3 separate regions of the Homo sapiens genome follow, and all the other regions are linked to region 3. The links are contacts of gene promoters, found by promoter capture Hi-C in blood cells and fetal thymus (Javierre and others, 2016). All regions are on one chromosome and are shown on one strand. The core of a region is centred on a gene start or on the middle of the fragment in contact, and the rest is flanking DNA. Distances in the headings are between cores, read along the strand shown.

What was found. The method cuts DNA at HindIII sites, captures the fragments that hold promoters and counts their contacts. A CHiCAGO score of 5 or more calls a contact.
Region 1: a contact is called between a fragment that was not itself captured here and the fragment with the promoter of SLC35G5 in region 3, in 2 of 17 cell types (naive B cells and total B cells). The highest score is 7.0, in naive B cells.
Region 2: a contact is called between a fragment that was not itself captured here and the fragment with the promoter of SLC35G5 in region 3, in 4 of 17 cell types (naive B cells, total B cells, M2 macrophages and 1 more). The highest score is 10.0, in naive B cells.

The regions. Positions count from the first base shown.
Region 1 is chr8:11,956,544-11,960,231 of GRCh38, reverse strand. No RefSeq gene overlaps it. Among named protein-coding and RNA genes, the nearest start is that of DEFB136, 16 kb to the left of the region's middle. RefSeq lists enhancers at 2,061-2,576, 2,577-3,094. The HindIII fragment of the contact is 4,870 bases long and covers 1-3,688 here.
Region 2 is chr8:11,993,669-11,997,107 of GRCh38, reverse strand. DEFB134 (defensin beta 134) reads left to right here. Exons shown (of 3, transcript NM_001302695.2): 2 at 810-914; 3 at 2,986-3,439. The coding sequence starts at 857. The coding sequence ends at 3,128. Among named protein-coding and RNA genes, the nearest start is that of DEFB134, 5.4 kb to the left of the region's middle. The HindIII fragment of the contact is 1,515 bases long and covers 1,120-2,634 here.
Region 3 is chr8:11,329,001-11,332,601 of GRCh38, reverse strand. SLC35G5 (solute carrier family 35 member G5) reads right to left here and starts at 1,590. Exons shown (of 1, transcript NM_054028.2): 1 at 242-1,590. The coding sequence starts at 1,495. The coding sequence ends at 479. It also overlaps a transcript of MTMR9 not described here. The HindIII fragment of the contact is 5,485 bases long and covers 1-3,601 here.

The DNA.
Region 1 (3,688 bases), core at 295-2,794, 630 kb before region 3:
ATTGCTTGAACCAAGGAAGTGGAGGCTGCAGTGAGCCAAGATCATGCCATTGCACTCCAGCCTGGGCAACAAGAGCAAAACTCTGCCAGGAAAAAAAAAAAAAAAAAAGCTGCTATAAACCTTTTTGTACACGTATTTTTTTTAAATACATGCACTGATTTCTTAGTAAATACCTGAAGTTTCCAAGTTGTTCGCACCAATTTAATTCTCATCAGCAAAGAGGGAGAGCTCCATTTGCCACACATCTTCACAAACACTCAGCATTGTCTGTCTTCTACATTTTCACCTTCTGGTGGGTGTGTAGTGGTATCTCATTGTTTTTTCATGGGTTTTGTTTTGTCTTGTTTGAGACAGAGGTTCCCTTTGTCGCCCAGAGTGGAGTGCAGTGGTGCGATCTTGGCTTGCTGCAACCTCAGCCTCCCAGCTCAAATGATTCTCATGCCTCAGCCTTTTAAAATTATTTTTTGTTTGGCAGGGCACGGTGGCACATATCTGTGATTCCAGCACGAGTAGCATGCCACTACACCCGGTTAATTTTTGTATATTTTATAGAGATAAGATTTCTCCCTGTTAGCCAGGCTGCTTTCAAACTCCTGACCTCAGGTGATCCACCTGTCTCGGCCTCCTGAAGTGCTGGAATTACAGGCGTGAGCCACCATGCCCTGCGAAACAAAAAATAATTTTAAAATTATCCAAATGTGTCTCTTTAAAAATTTTTGTTGTTGTCGTTTTGAGACAGAGTCTCCCTCTGTCGCCCAGGCTGGAGTGCAGTGGCGCAATCTTGGCTCACTGCAACCTCCACCTCCTGGGTGCAAGCGATTGTCCTGCCTCAGCCTCCCTGAGTAGCTGGGGCTACAGGCATGCGCCACCACGCCCAGCTAATTTTTTTTGTACTTTTAGTAAAGACGAGGTTTCACCATGTTGGCCAGGCTGGTCTTGAACTCTTGACATCAGGTGATCCACCTGCCTCGGCTTCCCAAAGTGCTGGGATTACAGGCGTGAGCCACCGTGCCCGGCGAAAAATATTTTTTCACTTCCATTTATCCAACAGTTCCTGCTGTTTTGCATACCTGGCACTAAATGTCTTCTTCCGCTTTCCTGTTCCCCACTTCTTTTGTGGGATCCACTGGAAGCCTCCCTTGTGGACTGTGACTCTTTCCTGCCACCAGGTGGCAGACTTTGCCTGCTGTGCCACCTCTCCTGCCTGCTCAGTGTCGGTGGGAGTTGGGGGTGGACAAGCTGAGAGAGTTCTGTATCTTTTCTGAAGTTCTGCTTGGCGATCAATTGCTTCCTTTTCTTTTTGGTCCTCGTGGTCAGCACAATGCTTCGGATAGAGTCAGCATTCAATAACAAGCAAAGCAGACACAGTTTTTGTTTGTAAGTTAAAGTTCTAGAGGCCTATTGCATAACAATGTGTGTCTATGTAACACGACTGAACCGTACTCTCAAAAGTGGTTATGAAGATAAATTTCATGTTATATGTTTTGCAGCACAATTAAAAGTAAAAAATAAAAAAAAATAGGCCGGGCACGGTGGCTCATGCCTGAAATCCCAGCACTTTGGGAGGCCGAGGTGGGCATATCACCTGAGGTTGGGAGTTCGAGACCAGCCTGACCAACATGGACAAACCCCGTCTCTACTAAAAATACAAAATTAGCCAGGCCTGGTGGCACATGCCTGTAATCCCAGCTACTCGGGAGGCTGAAGCAGGGGAATCGCTTGAACCTGGGAGGCGGAGGTTGCAGTGAGCTGAGATCGCGCAATTGCCCTCCAGCCTGGGCAACAAGAGTGAAACTGCGTCTCAATAAATAAATAAATCAGGCCTTTCTTTACCCAACCCCAACCCCAAGGTGGCGCTCATCATCATGTGCTTACACCTCCTGTTATCATTTCTATCAAAAATAATAACAATAACACAAAATTGAAAAGCAAAGTAGATTAATGGGTTGGGCACGGTGGCTTGTGCCTGTAATCGCAGCATTTTGGGAGGCTGAGGCAGGTGGATCGCCTGAGGTCAAGGGTTCAAGACCAGCCTGGCCAACATGGTGAAACCCTGTCTCTACTAAAAATACAAAAATTAGCTGGGCGTGGTGGCCTACACCTGTAATCCCAGCTACTTGGTTGGGAGGCTGAGGCAGGAGAATCGCTTGAACCCAGGAGGCGAAGGTTGCAGTGAGCCGAGATCGTACCATTGCACTCCAGCCTGGGCAACAGAGCGAGACTCGTCTCAAATAAATAAATAAATAAATGCAAAGTAGATTAATGAAGGCAAAGCCTCTCTTTGCATAATTTCTCTACAAGAATGTCCACTCTCCAAATTCTCTGTGACCTGTTTGCAGAACGTGACAGTTTACAGCAATAAAGGCACACGAGGTTACAGCTGTGGCCTTCCTCTCGCAGCAAGGGGGAGCTAGGGCCCAAATAAACATTCAAACCAAGGAGCACAGCAGTGAGTGGCCTAATGGTGGGATAGCGGGAGGCTGCGCACTGGGTGAGGCCGTCCCAGGGGAGACCCTCCTGCCACTGCTGGGTCTGACGCAGGAAAGCAGCCCCTGCTGTGGGCCCATGAGACAGCTGCCAGAAGGCCAAGCTGCCCATGACAGCTCCTTCGCCTGCAAACACACACACACATGCCTGGAGATGGATCTGGCAAGGCCCTTGGAAATCACCTCTGAAGATGAGTAAACTGAGGCTCGGAGAGGCAAAGGAACATTGTCAGGACCACACTGTGAGGGAGGCCAGAAACCGCACTGGATCCCAGGTCTGCGGAGGGGCAGCCCAGTGCCCCATGCACTACACCATGTGCATTTAAGGAAGGAAGTTGGCAAAAACGATGGGTGGAAATCAGTTTCTGACCACTTAGAAAGTGGAAATCCTTAGCAAAGATAAGTTGATAAGATGTATCAATTGGGTTTAATTCTGTAAAAAGTTGTACATTCAAAATGTATATAAAAGGAAAGACACAAATTTGGAAAACAAGGGAGGTGGAGGCAAAACAAAAATATTAATAATAATCAGTGAAGAGAACAGCACCGTGCTGGCCCAGTGGCTCACGGCTGTAATCCAAGCAATTTGGGAGGCTGAGGCGAGCAGATCACTTTAATCTAGGAGTTCGAGGCCAGCCTGGGCAACATAGAGAGACCCTCCCCCCACCCGCACATCTCTTTAAAAAATAAAAACATAACTGGGGCCAGGTGCAGTGGCTCACACCTGTAATCCCAGCACTTTGGGAGGCAGAGGTGGGCAGATCACTTGAGGTCAGGAGTTCAAGACCAGCCTGGCCAACATGGTGAAACCCCACACTAAAAATACAAAAATTAGCCAGGTGTGGTGGTGCGTGCCTGTAATCTCAGCTACTTGGGAGACAGAGGCAGGAGAATTGCTTGAACCTGGGAGGCAGAGGTTGCAGTGACCCGGGATCGCACCACTGCACTCCAGCCTGGGTGACAGAGTGAGACTCCGTCTCAAAAAAAAAAAAAAATGTAGCCAGATGTGGTGGCGCACACCTGTGGTCCCAGCTACTCCAGGGGCTGACGTGGGAGGATCACTTGACCCCATGAAGTAGAGGCTGCAGTGAGCCAAGATTGCACCACTGCACTCCAGCCTGGGTGAGAGTGAGATCCCTCAAAAAAAAAAAAAAAAAAAAAAAGAGTACCAAGAGAACAGCACTGAAAGATGTTAGAGACTT
Region 2 (3,439 bases), core at 628-3,127, 660 kb before region 3:
TTGTGGCCTTTAGACTGAGAGGTGAAAGAGAATCAGGAGGGGAATATTACAGAAGGCATGAAAAAATGTTAGGGGGAATGGATATGTTCATTATTTTGAATGTGACAATGGTCTCACAAACGTATAGATATGGCAAAACTTATCCGATTGTACACTTTACTGTTTGAAGTTTATTGTATGTCACTTATACTTCAATAAAAAATGTTTTTTTAAATAGTAACAATTATTTTAAATGACCTTGACAAAATATTGTGCAACACTTAAAAATACTATTTATGAAGTTTATAGTGACACTGATATATAGTATATATCAAGTTACAAAAGCAGGATACCTAATTATAAGAATATTGTTTATAGCTATGTAAAACAAAATATTAAACAACAAACTAGGCATAAATGAAACTTTCTTTAGAATGACAGTTTGTCTCTGAGAAGAGCAGTTCATCTGTAACTTGTCCATCCTTGTCATGTTTAATATTTTACCAATTTTCTAAAATTAGCAATTACATTTTTATTGGAACAAAAGCCTATCAAATTTTAATTTTACTCATTTAAAAGAGTAAGAGCACATAGTTCTCAGGCCTCCATGTACTTTTGGAAAACCTGGGTGGGAGAACAGTGTCTTTGTCAATAGGAAAAGCTGTCAAACAAGAAAGGGCTGTCCATTTTTTTTCCTCAGATGAGCATTGCCAACACGGCTGCCTCAGGGGTGTTCAGTGTAGCATATCTACCTGAAGCGAGGCATACCCCAGCCCTGAGAGGTTTGTATAGGACTGTGTGCTCAACCTCTTCTCTCTGTTCCCTGACAGCCGATGTCAGACCCTGCCACTAGCCTCCTTAACAGAAGTTCCCAGCCATGAAGCCTCTCCTTGTTGTGTTTGTCTTTCTTTTCCTTTGGGATCCAGTGCTGGCAGGTAAAACTGGCATATTTTGGGGGGTAGGGGTGCTTCATATAGAAGAACAATGCCACTAAACAACCCAATAAACATACACCACCCATGGGCCCTTTAATTTTCAAGCTAGAAAAAAGCATCAACTAGTTTTGATGTCAGCAAGACCTGGGCTTGAATCTGGCTGTCCAACTTGTTAACTATATAACTTTGGACAAAGGTCTAAGCTTCTCTGAGCCTTAGTTTCCTTTTTTTTTTTGGCTGAACTGATCCGCACCAATGAGCCTTAGTTTCTTCATTTGAAAAATGGAAATATGGAAATGAAGAGTCTCACAAGGATTAAATCAGATCATGTATGGAATATGTCCATACATAATATGAAAAGTACCTGGCTCATGAGAGCTATCATTGTATTTTCATTAGTAATGCCCATCCTGTCTTCCTGCTGTTATTTTGTCTCTAATTCAAGAATGTATCTAAGTATAATAGTCAAAACCAGAAAATAGTGACAACACAATTTGTTAATTTTCTAATATACTGCAGTTTCCTACAGTTAATTTACTATTTGTGAATCCATTAGTTACATGAGGAAACAGATTTAGAACGGCTAGTTTCAAGAGAATCACTGAGCTTTATGTGATAGAAGAAATGCCTGATCAGATGAGATAGCAGCCAGGGAGACATGACAGAGAGTGTGAGTGGCCCTGTGCTCTAGCTTCACCATATCCTTTCCGACTTTAGCAATCTCATCTGGAAAATTCTTTTCACTCAGTGTTACTGAATCAGTCCAGTCAGATTGGTTCATCTGCCTAGATGGACTGAAGTGTTTGCCTGAAGTATTCTCCAGGCAAATGAATCACATCTTCAGATTATGTGACTCACCAGGCTAAATTTAAGAATTCATGGGATCAAGGCCTCTTAAAGCTGCTGATGCAACCAATTCCATTACGGTTTATGGCAATGGATTTGTGGCCTCCAGACAAAGAACCCCATATAGTGTACAATATTCCCTTCAATTCCTTTTGCATTCTCATAACTTGTCATTTCCATTGAAAGTTCTTGTCTCATTTTATAGACCATTATATTTCATCTTCCCAAAAGTGTTACAGATTGTCCTCTAGGGCTTCTGTCTTGCAAACTAAGTAACACTGATCCCTTCTTGTTCATGTAGGACAATTATCCTCCAGGGCATTATGACTCAGATAGGGTATGTGTTTGCTCAAAATTTCTACAGATTCCTTGAGCTTCAATAAGACTTCTCAAATCTTCAGAATTGATTTCATCCTCCTTCAAACTCACAAGACCGTTCCACATTGCAAATACATCATTGCACTTGTCATGTTTTTTCCTCTCTCAGAGATATTTTGTATTTCTTCTCTTTTTGTCTAGAATGAAAATTCATTGAGGTTAAGGTCTATATCATACTCAAATCTGTACCCCAACAGTCCTTGATTCACAGGATTTATAAAAATTGGTTTATGAATAATAATGAGTAAGTAATTATTTAAAAAATAATGAATGAATGACTATGTGAATAGCTAGCTTGATTGTTTGGGTTATATTCATTGACAAATTCAGGGAAACTTCCAAATTATTACTTGTTTTAGTCAGCTTGGGCTGCGATAACAAAATTCCGCACACTGTGGCTTAGACAAACTTTATTTTCTCATAGTTCCAGAAGATGAGAAATCCAAGATCAAGGTGCTAGCTGATTCAATTTCTGATGAGAGCTTGCTTTCAAGCTTGTAGATGGCCATCTTTTTGCCGTGACCTTCACTAATAAGACCATCAATCCTATTGGATTAGCCTATCAATCTTATTGGATTAGGGTTCCACCATCATGACCTCATTTAACTTATATTACTTCCTGAAGGCCCTATCTCTAAAGACAGTCACATCAGGGGTGAGGGTTTCAGCATATGAATTTTGGGGTGACACAATTCAGCCCCTACCACTAATTAATTTTTTCAGTTACAGGATCAATTATCATAACCAAATCTCCTTGGTATCCGGTTGGATAAAAATTGAGGGACTAGCAATTTTATGGTCCAAAAAGGCCTGTAGTGAATTATCTTTCTATTCATTTTCCTTCCAGGTATAAATTCATTATCATCAGAAATGCACAAGAAATGCTATAAAAATGGCATCTGCAGACTTGAATGCTATGAGAGTGAAATGTTAGTTGCCTACTGTATGTTTCAGCTGGAGTGCTGTGTCAAAGGAAATCCTGCACCCTGACATAAGAAACCAATGAATGGCCACTATCCTGTAGGCCCTTGATTCTGCCATCTTTCACAAAACCAGGGAATTTAGATCAAACTGTGACACCATGATGTGTCCATGACTACTGGTTTTTAGCATTTTTATAGGCCAGCAGACTCTTGTGGTCTTAAATTTAAAGAGCTGAGCTGTAGCCTTCTTTAAAAGAGCTCGGTTTTTCACAAAAACAATGTAGAAGATATTTTCTCACCTCAACGTGATGTCCAGTGTGCTCATCAGCACCTGTTTCTCCCTCTAATCATAGAGGATATTCTTATTATTTAGAAAGG
Region 3 (3,601 bases), core at 341-2,840:
AACAAAAAACAAACAAACTCTATCGAACCCTTCTAGTGAATTTCTCATCTCAGTTGTCGCACGTTTCAGCTACAAAATTTCTACCTGGTTCCTTTCTATAATTTTTATATTTTTATTGATATTCTCATTTTGTTCAAACATCATTTCTCTGATTTCATTTAGTTGTCTTTTAACTCTTGTGCATATTTAAGACAATTGTTTAGTCTTTGTCTAGTAAGTCCAAAGTCTGGGATTCCTTAAGGATAGTTCAATTAATTTTATTCCTGTAAATAAGCCAGATTTCTCATTTGTTTGCATGCTTTGTGATATTTTTATTATAACTGAACATCTCAATATTATAATGTGCTATGGAAGTTAGACTTTCACTCTTTCCTAGGATTTATTATAATTATTTTTTTTCTTTTATTTTTTTTTTGTCTTCAGTCTTTGTCTTTATTTATCCCTGTCCCTCCCAACCCCCGGGCTCCCAAGTTCTATCTCACTCCTCCACCTTCCCTGTCCTCTCACAGCTGAGGTTCCGGGCTGTAATGATGGCAATGCTGCCCAGCACAACCCCTGCCCCCATGATGTCAGAAAGTGCCACAGTCTCATGGAGCATATAATACTGCAGTATAAGGGCCACAACCACCTCGGAATGCAGGACAGCGCACACCAGGGCAGGGTGGGCCTTGGTGACCGCATAGCCCACACATGTGAAGGAGACCAAGGCGAGGATCCCCTCTGCCCCCACACAACTCCAACTCAGGAGGTCACTGGGCAACACGGGGGTCTGCAGCACAAAGAGGCCTGGCACACAGCCCAGCAGCCCCACCAAGCCAGATAGGAAGGCCACTGTTGGGAGGCAGGAGGGAAAGTGCAGAGAACGATAGACCAGAAGCCCCAGGGACAGCGCCAGGCCTCCCAGGAAAGCCTGCACATAGCCCAGGGTGGTGTAGACACCTGTGGTCCCCTCCTGTAGTGTCCAGAGTCCAGGTCCCAGAATGATGATTAGTCCTAGGATGCTGCCCAACAGTCCACACCACTCGTAGCCACCGAGACCCTGGCTCTCAAGGCAGAGGGTGAGGACAGCGGAGCATACGGTGGAAGAACCTTTGCGAACAGTGGCAGCGTTGCCAGCGGGCACCACCTGAACTGCACTGTAGGCACATCCAATGCTGAGGACGTTGAGCAGGGCACAGAAGCAGGCCCAGCCTCGGATGTCAGGAGGTCCCAGAAGGGGGTCGCCACGCAGTTTAAGTAGCAGGGCAATAGGGAGGTGGAAGAGGCATCGACAGATGAGCAGCTCCAGCGAGGGCAGGTTGGAACCCTGGTAAGCCATACGAGAAAGGGGGCCCACGAAGCCAGCAGGCAGGCCCCCACCCAGCAGGGCCACCAGCAGGCCATTGGTGGCACCAGAGGGCTGGCAGCGCTGGTGCCAGCGGAGGCTGGGTGGAGCGGAGGGCGGCGATGGGTGTGTGGAGTCAGGCAGGTTGAAGTAGGGGTGACTGCCAGCCATCTTTCCTTGGACTTTCTCCTCTCCTCCTGGCTCAGGGAGCCTGGGCCCCTCAGAGCTCCAGCCATTGTGACCTCATTGGAGTGCGGGTGGGGTTCTTCCCTGGAACTCTCCTGAGGTGGTAGCACGCCTATTTTCCCGCTGAGTCCAACTCTGCTTCTTTTCTTTCTTTCTTTCTTTCTTTTTTTTTTTTTTAATTGATCATTCTTGGGTGTTTCTCGCAGAGGGGGATTTGGCAGGGTCATAGGACAATAGTGGAGGGAAGGTCAGCAGATAAACAAGTGAACAAAGGTCTCTGGTTTTCCTAGGCAGAGGACCCTGCGGCCTTCCGCAGTGTTTGTGTCCCTGGGTACTTGAGATTAGGGAGTGGTGATGACTCTTAACGAGCATGCTGTCTTCAAGTATCTGTTTAACAAAGCACATCTTGCACCGCCCTTAATCCATTTAACCCTGAGTGGACACAGCACATGCCCCAGAGAGCACAGGGCTGGGGTCAAGGTCACAGATCAACAGTATCCCAAGGCAGAAGAACCCCTCCCAGTACAGAACAAAATGAAGTCTCCCATGTCTACTTCTTTCTACACAGACACAGCAACAATCTGATTTCTCTATCTTTTCCCCACCTTTCCCCCTTTTCTATTCCACAAAACCGCCATCGTCATCATGGCCCGTTCTCAATGAGCTGTTGGGTACACCTCCCAGACGGGGTGGTGGCCGGGCAGAGGGGCTCCTCACTTCCCAGAAGGGGCAGCCGGGCAGAGGCGCCCCCCACCTCCCTCCCAGACGGGGCAGCTGGCCGGGTGGGGGCTGACCCCCCACCTCCCTCCCGGACAGGGCGGCTGGCCGGTGGGGGGCTGACCCTCCACCTCCCTCCCGGACGGGGCGGCTGGCCAGGCCGCGGCTGACCCCCCACCTCCCTCCCGGACGGGGCGGCTGGCCGGGCGGGGGCTGATCCCCGACCTCCCTCCCGGACGGGGCTGCTGGCCGGGCGGGGGCTGACCTCCCACCTCCCTCCCGGATGGGGCGGCTGCCAGGCGGAGACGCTCCTCACTTCCCAGACGGGGCGGCTGCCGGGCGGGGTGCTCCTCACTTCCCAGACGGGGCAGCTGCCAGGCGGAGGGGCTCCTCACTTCTCAGACAGGGCGGCCGGGCAGAGACGCTTCTCACCTCCCAGACGGGGTCGCAGCCGGGCAGAGGCGCTCCCCACATCTCAGATGATGGGCAGCTGGGCAGAGACGCTCCTCACTTCCTAGACGGGATGGCGGCCAGGAAGAGGCGCTCCTCACTTCCCAGACTGGGCAGCCGGGCAGAGGGGCTCCTCACATCCCAGACGATGGGTGGCCAGGCGGAGACGCTCCTCCCTTCCCAGACGGGGTGGCGGCCGGGCAGAGGCTGCAATCTCAGCACTTTGGGAGGCCAAGGCAGGCGGCTGGGAGGTGGAGGTTGTAGCGAGCCGAGATCACGCCACTGCACTCCAGCCTGGGCAACATTGAGCACTGAGTGAACCAGACTCCGTCTACAATCCCGGCACCTCAGGAGGCCGAGGCTGGCGGATCACTCGCGGTTAGGAGCTGGATACCAGCCCGGCCAACACAGCGAAACCCTGTCTCCACCAAAAAAATACGAAAACCAGTCAGGCGTGGCGGCGCGAGCCTGCAATGGCAGGCACTCGGCAGGCTGAGGCAGGAGAATCAGGCAGGGAGGTTGCAGTGAGCCGAGATGGCAGCAGTACAGTCCAGCTTTGGCTCGGCATCAGAGGGAGACCATGGAAAGAGAGGGAGAGGGAACTCCTGGGCTCAAGTGATCTTCCCACTCCAGCTTCTGAGTAGCAAGGACTGCAGATGAGCACCATCATGCCTGGCTAATTTTTTTATTTTTTGTAAAGACAGGATCTTGTTATGTTTCCCATGCTGGTCTCGAACTCCTGGCCCTATGTGATCCTCCTGCCTCAGCCTTCCAGTGATTAACACAGACATATACACCAATGGAACACAATAGAGTGCACAGAAATGAATATGCATATGGTCAAATAATCTTCAACAAAGATACCAAGACCACACAATGGGAAAAGGACAGTCTCTTCAACAAAGTGTTGGGAAAAACTGAATA